Linked DNA regions of Homo sapiens: region 1 is linked to region 2. The links are contacts of gene promoters, found by promoter capture Hi-C in blood cells and fetal thymus (Javierre and others, 2016). All regions are on one chromosome and are shown on one strand. The core of a region is centred on a gene start or on the middle of the fragment in contact, and the rest is flanking DNA. Distances in the headings are between cores, read along the strand shown.

The links. Contacts are between HindIII fragments. The CHiCAGO score rates a contact against its expected background, and 5 or more counts as called.
Region 1: a contact is called between a fragment that was not itself captured here and the fragment with the promoter of CLIP1 in region 2, in 1 of 17 cell types (naive B cells). The highest score is 5.2, in naive B cells.

What each region holds. Positions count from the first base shown.
Region 1 is chr12:122,752,513-122,755,642 of GRCh38, reverse strand. It overlaps DENR (density regulated re-initiation and release factor), which reads right to left and starts at 2,819. Exons shown (of 8, transcript NM_003677.5): 1 at 2,693-2,819; 2 at 1,836-1,950. The coding sequence starts at 1,941. RefSeq lists an enhancer at 2,311-2,370 and a silencer at 2,511-2,560. The HindIII fragment of the contact is 184 bases long and covers 1,448-1,631 here.
Region 2 is chr12:122,421,149-122,424,591 of GRCh38, reverse strand. It overlaps CLIP1 (CAP-Gly domain containing linker protein 1), which reads left to right and starts at 1,923. Exons shown (of 26, transcript NM_001247997.2): 1 at 1,923-2,071. RefSeq lists an enhancer at 648-747 and silencers at 1,857-2,206, 2,227-2,626. The HindIII fragment of the contact is 15,249 bases long and covers 1,375-3,443 here.

The DNA.
Region 1 (3,130 bases), core at 290-2,789, 330 kb before region 2:
TGAGCATCTTGTTAAAATAAATGTATCAGTTTTTCTCACATCCTTAGTTTTGTTTTTTATTTTTGAGATGGGGTCTCGCACTGTTGCCCGGGTGGGAGTGCAATGGCGTGATCTCGGCTCACTGCAACCTCTGCCTCCCGGGTTCAAGTGATTCTCCTGCCTCAGCCTCCCAAGTAGCTGGGATTACAGGTGCCTGCCACCAGGCCTGGCTAAGTTTTTGTATTTTTAGTAGAGACGGGGTTTCACTATGTTGGCCAGGCTGGTCTTGAACTCCTGACCTCATGATCTGCCTGCCTCAGCCTCCCAAAGTGCTGGGATTACAAGTGTGAGCCACTGCGCCCGGCCCCTTAGTTTTAATTCATAATTACAGAAAAATAAAACAAGATTTCTAGAGACTGACATTTTCACTAAGCTTCCAAACTTCTCACCAACTAAGCAATTCTCTATGTGGTGAAATCTACCCAGTTCACCTCGTTCCAGGTACACCCCAAGAATCTTTCTGGCTTTTCTCTCTTTCTCCCTTAGAAAAGCTCATATACTGTCTCTCTCTGCTGCCAAATGCAGCATACTTGGATTCTTCCATTTGGAGAAACTCAAATTCACTGTATTGCAAGTCAGCCTATTATCTATCTCCAAATCTAATCTTTCTCAAAGTCATCATTTTTAGTGGTGTTCTGGTTTTTCAACTCTCTCAATTGTGAAATATCTTTTTCCTTTTTCACCATTAAACATTGTATCTTTTCTTTGATTAACCCTCTTTATTCACTTTTATACTGCTTACACTCTCAGCAAGGCACTTATTTACCTCAAACCTAGATTTCTGAAAGTGGCCTTCAAATTTGTGGGTTCTATTTCCTCCAAATAATGCAGCATATTAATCTCTTGTCACTTTATTTTCCTGCTCAAAAAATGATTAGGTTGGTGCAAAAGTAACTGCAGTTTTTGCCATTACTTTTAATGGCAAAAAGATATCATTTCTCCTTCTACGGTACTTAAATGTCAGATGTGGTCTCTACTGCAGTCACAGAATGTAAGGTCCACGTGAACAAGGATCTTCTGACTTATTCACTACTCAGGCCCCAGCACCTAAAACATCACTAGGCACACAGTAAGTTCTGAGAAATATTTACTGAAAAAATATTTACTTGCCCTTTTACTGTCCTGTATCTTCAGATTTTTCTGAAAGTTTCCAAGATGCGAATACATACAGCATTTACAATTCACAAATATTTCTATATTGAAAATGAAGAAAAACACTCGAAAGTGAAAAAGATCTTGATTAAACCTAATACATATATCATGATTCAAACCAAGAAGACTTTCCTCACTGTCCTACCACCCAACACTCCAACCTCACCTTCTCCCACTCCTTAACGGGCCACCCTCCCTATACGATACACCAGACAAACTCAAAGCTGCTCACTTCTTCACAGACAGCCATCAAGCTTTTTCTTACATAGTCGTGCGCTTTGTCTGGGACGCCGTTCCCCACCTTCTCATCCAGTCCTTGCCATCCTTAACTCATAATCTTCCAAGAAGCCCTCCTTTGACAGCTAGACTAGCATACACCTTGAGGACCTTCAGGCTGAAATAACCTAGTTGCACATCCTGTTACAAATGGACTGTAAGCTTCTTCAGGCAGAGTAGCCAGACACAAATCACCCAGGTGGGGAAACTCTGTTAATTCATGCCTCCTCCTCCCCAGGACTCCTCTCCCCCAGTACAAACTCACCAAATGAAAAGGATGGGGAAGAAAGCTTACCAAATGTCAAACTGTTATTACAATGCATAAAAGTATAGTGAGTAAAAGTCATTCTGTGGCTACCAACACTTGCCTCCACAATAAAGGACTCGAAGTGGGTAATCGGCATCTAACTTGGCACTGTTCCTTGGGTCTCCTTTGCAGTCAGCCCCGCTGGATTCAGAAATGTCAGCAGCCATTTCACAAACCTGTAAGCAAGGAAAATAACACACCCTCACTATTTTAGAATCAAGACCCCAGAAGAGCAGTGTTCCTCTCAACAGAAACCTCCCCACCCCAAAGCTGTTTCAAGTCTGTTGTTGAGTGGGGGATACAAGCTGCATTCGATTCATAAAATATGAGCAATCCCAGGCACAACATCTCCTTGCTCCACAGGTCTACAGGGAAGCAAGCAGCAAATGGACCATGAAGGATGGGGCAGAGGGACTCACTAGAGAAAAACAGGAAGCAATGGGGAAGGAAAGATGGGGTGAGTACCCACGGCAGACACGGAGCAAAAAGGTCTGAGGGTGATCTGGGAGGGATGCAAACTGCAGTGAGAGAAGGGCTACAAAGGCGCCGAATGGAGAGAGGCTGGAAGTGCCTAGGAACAAGGGGTGGGTCATCGGAGAAGCCCGGGGTGCAGGGTGTGGGGGCAACTAAACGCCATGAGAGGGGCCTGGGGAGTCTAAAAAGGGCATGGGAGGGGGCGGGGTAACCAGAGCGTAAGAAGGATGAGGAGAGAAAACGAGCGCAGAATGTAAGAGCACTGAGGGGACAAGGGCGACCAGGTCTGAGGCGAAGGAGCAACCCCGGGGACGCCAGAAGGGGCCCTTGTGGGCGGGGGTGTGGAGAGGCCCGGCCCGGCCCCCTTCCGCCAGGCAGCATCTCAGCTTCCCCCACACTCTCTACGAGCTTCTCGGGAGCGGGAGAAGCACTTGGGGTCGTTACCCAGGCGGTCGCACAGGCCCCGCCGGCTCCGCTCCCGCCGCTATCGCCAGCTGAACCAACACATGCAACTCGTCTCCCCGGCCAGGGCCGCCCGAGCGCCCGACCGCCAGCAGCGCTCCCGCGAGACAATGAGCCTTTATCGCGAGATTCCGGCCGCCGCTGGGCGGATGTCGCGAGAAGCCGGAAGACGGGGGCGGAGAAAAATTGCGGAGCGTGCGCCTTGCCCTCCGGTGGGGGGCGTGGCCAAGAGGCCGAGAGGCGGGCCGCCGGCAGGCGGTGCTCGTCACCCGTTGGAGAGGATGAATCCTCGAGATGGGCGTGCCGAAGGGAACGTGACTTGCAGACGCAGAGAGCGCACCTGAGTCACAAATGACTCCCTATTAATGAGTCCGAGGATCATCGCCTCGGTGTCTGCGGTGCATCCTGGAGTCCTGACTA
Region 2 (3,443 bases), core at 674-3,173:
CTTGCGGTGAGCCGAGATCGCACCACTGCACTCCAGCCTGGGCGACAGAGTGAGACTCCATCTCAAAAAAAAAAAAAAAAAAAAAAATTAACGCCAAGACTCCATGATGAACAAAATGATATAATTATAAATAAATAAGCAAATGATGAACATGACAATGACATAGAATAACCCATGAGAACAAGCAAATATACACACACACACACACACACATATATATACATATATATATACATGTGTATATATATATATATTTTTTGAGACAGAGTCTCCCTCCGGCACCCAGGCTGGAGTGTAGTGGCTTGAACTCTGGTCACAGCAACCTCCGCCTCCCGGGTTCAAACAATTCTCGTGTCTCAGCCTCCCGAGTAGCTGGGACTACAGGCATGCACCACCATGCCCAGTTAATTTTTGTATTTTTTGTTAGAGACGGGGTTTCACCATGTTGGCCAAGCTGGTCTTGAACTCCTGTCTGCAGGTGATCCACCCACCTGGGTCTCTCAAAGTGCTAGAATTACAGGCGTGAGCCACCACACCCAGCCCCAAAACAATATTTTTAATAAAGACAGGCTCAGCCTACTGAGTAGAGAAGAAAAGACAAGCCCATAAGTGTTCCTAGCTGAACTCCCCCATTAGAAGTGGTCTGTGCCTCATCCTATGACATCTATGATTCCACAGCTTGCTGATTACAGCTGAAGACTGTTTAGATTAGGGGGTGAGGCGCGCCTTTCAGATTAGGAATATGGATATGGGATTTCAGGAGTACCACCACCACCTGACCTTGCAGCCTGTAAATTAGGGCGATGTTGAATTAGGTAACAGCATTTCGAGGGATTTCAGACATGAATGGAGAGGAGGGGCCAGGAGACAAATTTACATAGTTCAGAACTTCGTGCATTACCAGAGCAGTTCCCTCTTCCTGCTGGTCCAGGCAGCACGGTGCTTTGAATAAAGGTCAGCTAGAGGGGTCACCCGCCGATTATTCTCTTCTACTGGCAAGGAGGAGGAAGCCCCTGCCCCCTTATCCACCACAAAATCCTGGGCTTCCCCGACAGCTGCAAATTCCTCCCTGGAGATGTAAGGCTTCTGGGGTTGCCATGGTCCATGGGAGTGAAATGCTGGCCGCCCTCTGCTACCCCAGCCCCGAGCAGGCTGTTGCAGCCTTCCCTCCTGTCCCTTTCAAAAGCTTTTAAAGGAAATCCCAGGGGGGAAGGAGGATGGGACACTAACCAGGGCTTCCGTCCAAGCAGCCAGGGCGAATAAAAGGGGCTTTTCTCAAACGAACGGAGCAAACCCTGGGATCGTTTCAAAGGATTTTTAACCCGCGGTCGTTCCCGGAGGGAAGTGGGGAGCAGATACAGTTCTTCCCAAGCTTAACCTGCTCTACAGTTCCTTTCAGCATTTTCTCCAGGGACGCCTCATCCAGGGTCTTTCCCTGGAGGGAGGCGAGGGCAGAGATGATCCTTCCCAATCCCCAACTTAACCTGCTTCGGAAGCGCCTTGCAGCCTGTTTCAAAGGATTTCTCACCCTTGTCTGGCGGGAAGGGGAGGGCAAACAAATGAATCAGCCCCAAAGAGCGGGCTGAGGTCGAGGCTGAATGGGGCTCTTGGGTGTGACTTGCAAATTCTGGGAACACTTTGCAGAAATGACGAGAAGCCCCTCGGAGCAGGCCTGTGGGTTTTCCCTCGCACCTTGCTCCCCAAGCCGGGGCTCGGGAGGGTTCGAGGGCGGAGCGGCGGGCGCGCCGGGGCCAGGGTCCTCCCGGGGCCGCGGTGGGCGCAGACAAAGAGGCGGCGGGGCGGCGCGGGGCCGGGCGCGGGCCGCAGGGCCGGTGCGGACTCGAGGGGCCGGGCCGGCCGGGCCGGCCGGGCGGGCGCGGCGGCGGAGCGCTGGGAGGAGCCGCGCGGCGTCTTCTCCTGGCAGCGCGCGCCCGCCCGGCCCCGCGGCGGCGGCGGCGCGTCACGCTCTCCCCCGCCCCGAGCCGACGAGCCGGGAGGCGGGAGGCGGCGGCCGCGGCGGCTGCTGCTGCTGCAGTGGGACAGGTGGCGGCGACCGGCGGCGTCCGAGGAGGTGAGCAGGGGGCGGCGCGGGCCCTCTCCCTTTCCCGGCACCCCCTGCTCCCCTGCCGGCTTCCCGGCCTGCGGGGCCCGCCCAGGGTCGGGTCGGGGGTCGAAGCCCGGCGTCCGGGAGCGGGGCCGAGCCTCGCGCGCCGGAGCCGTCCGGGAGGGGACCGCGGGAGTCTCGGGTGGCCGGCGCCGGAGGCCGGGGGTCCCTGGGGGGCTCCTCCGGAGCTGGAAAAGTGGCGGCCCTGTCAGCGCCGAGCCGGGCCTTCGCTTCCTCCGCCCGCCTCAAGATGGAGCTTGGACTCCTTGCCCCTGCGCCGCCCCAGGCGCCGCTCTCTCCCTGGCGCCCCGCTCCCTCTCCTGGGCCCCGGGGCGGATGTGGGATCGGCCGGACCCCGGGAGGCCGAAGCCGGGCGGGACCTGTTGCCCCGGGCGCCGCGCCTGTCACCTGAGCATTCCTCAGGCCCCGGGTGCCCGGCGCCCGCGATCCGGCATGGAGGGCACCCTGGCCCGGCCTCCCCCGCTGCCCCGGCTTTTGTTTTCCTCTCAAGTGGGGCTGTGATTCTCGGAGACCGGGGAAGGCTGGAGGTGGCCAGATCGCTCTCGGGTTTCCGAAATCACACCGCTGCCCGGTAATCCGAACCTTCTACCGCGGCAGGGGATTGGCGCGGAAGGCAGATGACACTTGTTCAGAGGTTATTTTACAAGCAGAACCTAGCGATTGCCCGAATTGGAAGGTCCTGCCTTTCAAAAATCGGGTTTTGATTCGGGGGTGAATCCTGAATCCGGCTGTTTCTCCACTTCATGTGGCTTTTCCATCTGGCAGGAGCCGAGCGCCACCCCCTCCTCCCTGCACAGCCCCACCTCTTTGGTATGAAGAAATTACACGTTGTCCGTCATCGGTTTAGATACCTGTTTTTAGCAAAACTTGGGCGCCAGTGAACTGTTTTTTAAAACAAAGGGTGGAGAAGATTCTGTAATTGTGTGTGTGTGATTCAGCAGCCTGGCCTTCTTCCTCTTTTAGGACAGTGGCCCCTAGCAGCTCTATAAGTATTAAGTGCTGTGGCCACTGCTGTCATTAGGGTTATGATTCTGGCTGTTCTTATTATTTGATTTGTGTCACTACTGTTAGCGATGGTATCCACGAATCAGGAGAGTATCCCAGAGTCAGGAATGTGTTTGTTTGACTTTTAGATTTAATGATAACCTTTAGCAAGAATCCCCAGGCATGTCGCTTCTCAGACTTGGGGCCTTTTTTTCTCTGTAAATTATAACAATGAACATTTATTGAAGGCATCTTGTGGCCAGGCTCTGGGCTAGCTTTTTATGTGTTTTATTTCATTTAATCAACCCTAACCCAGTGAGCGTGCTGTCGTCAT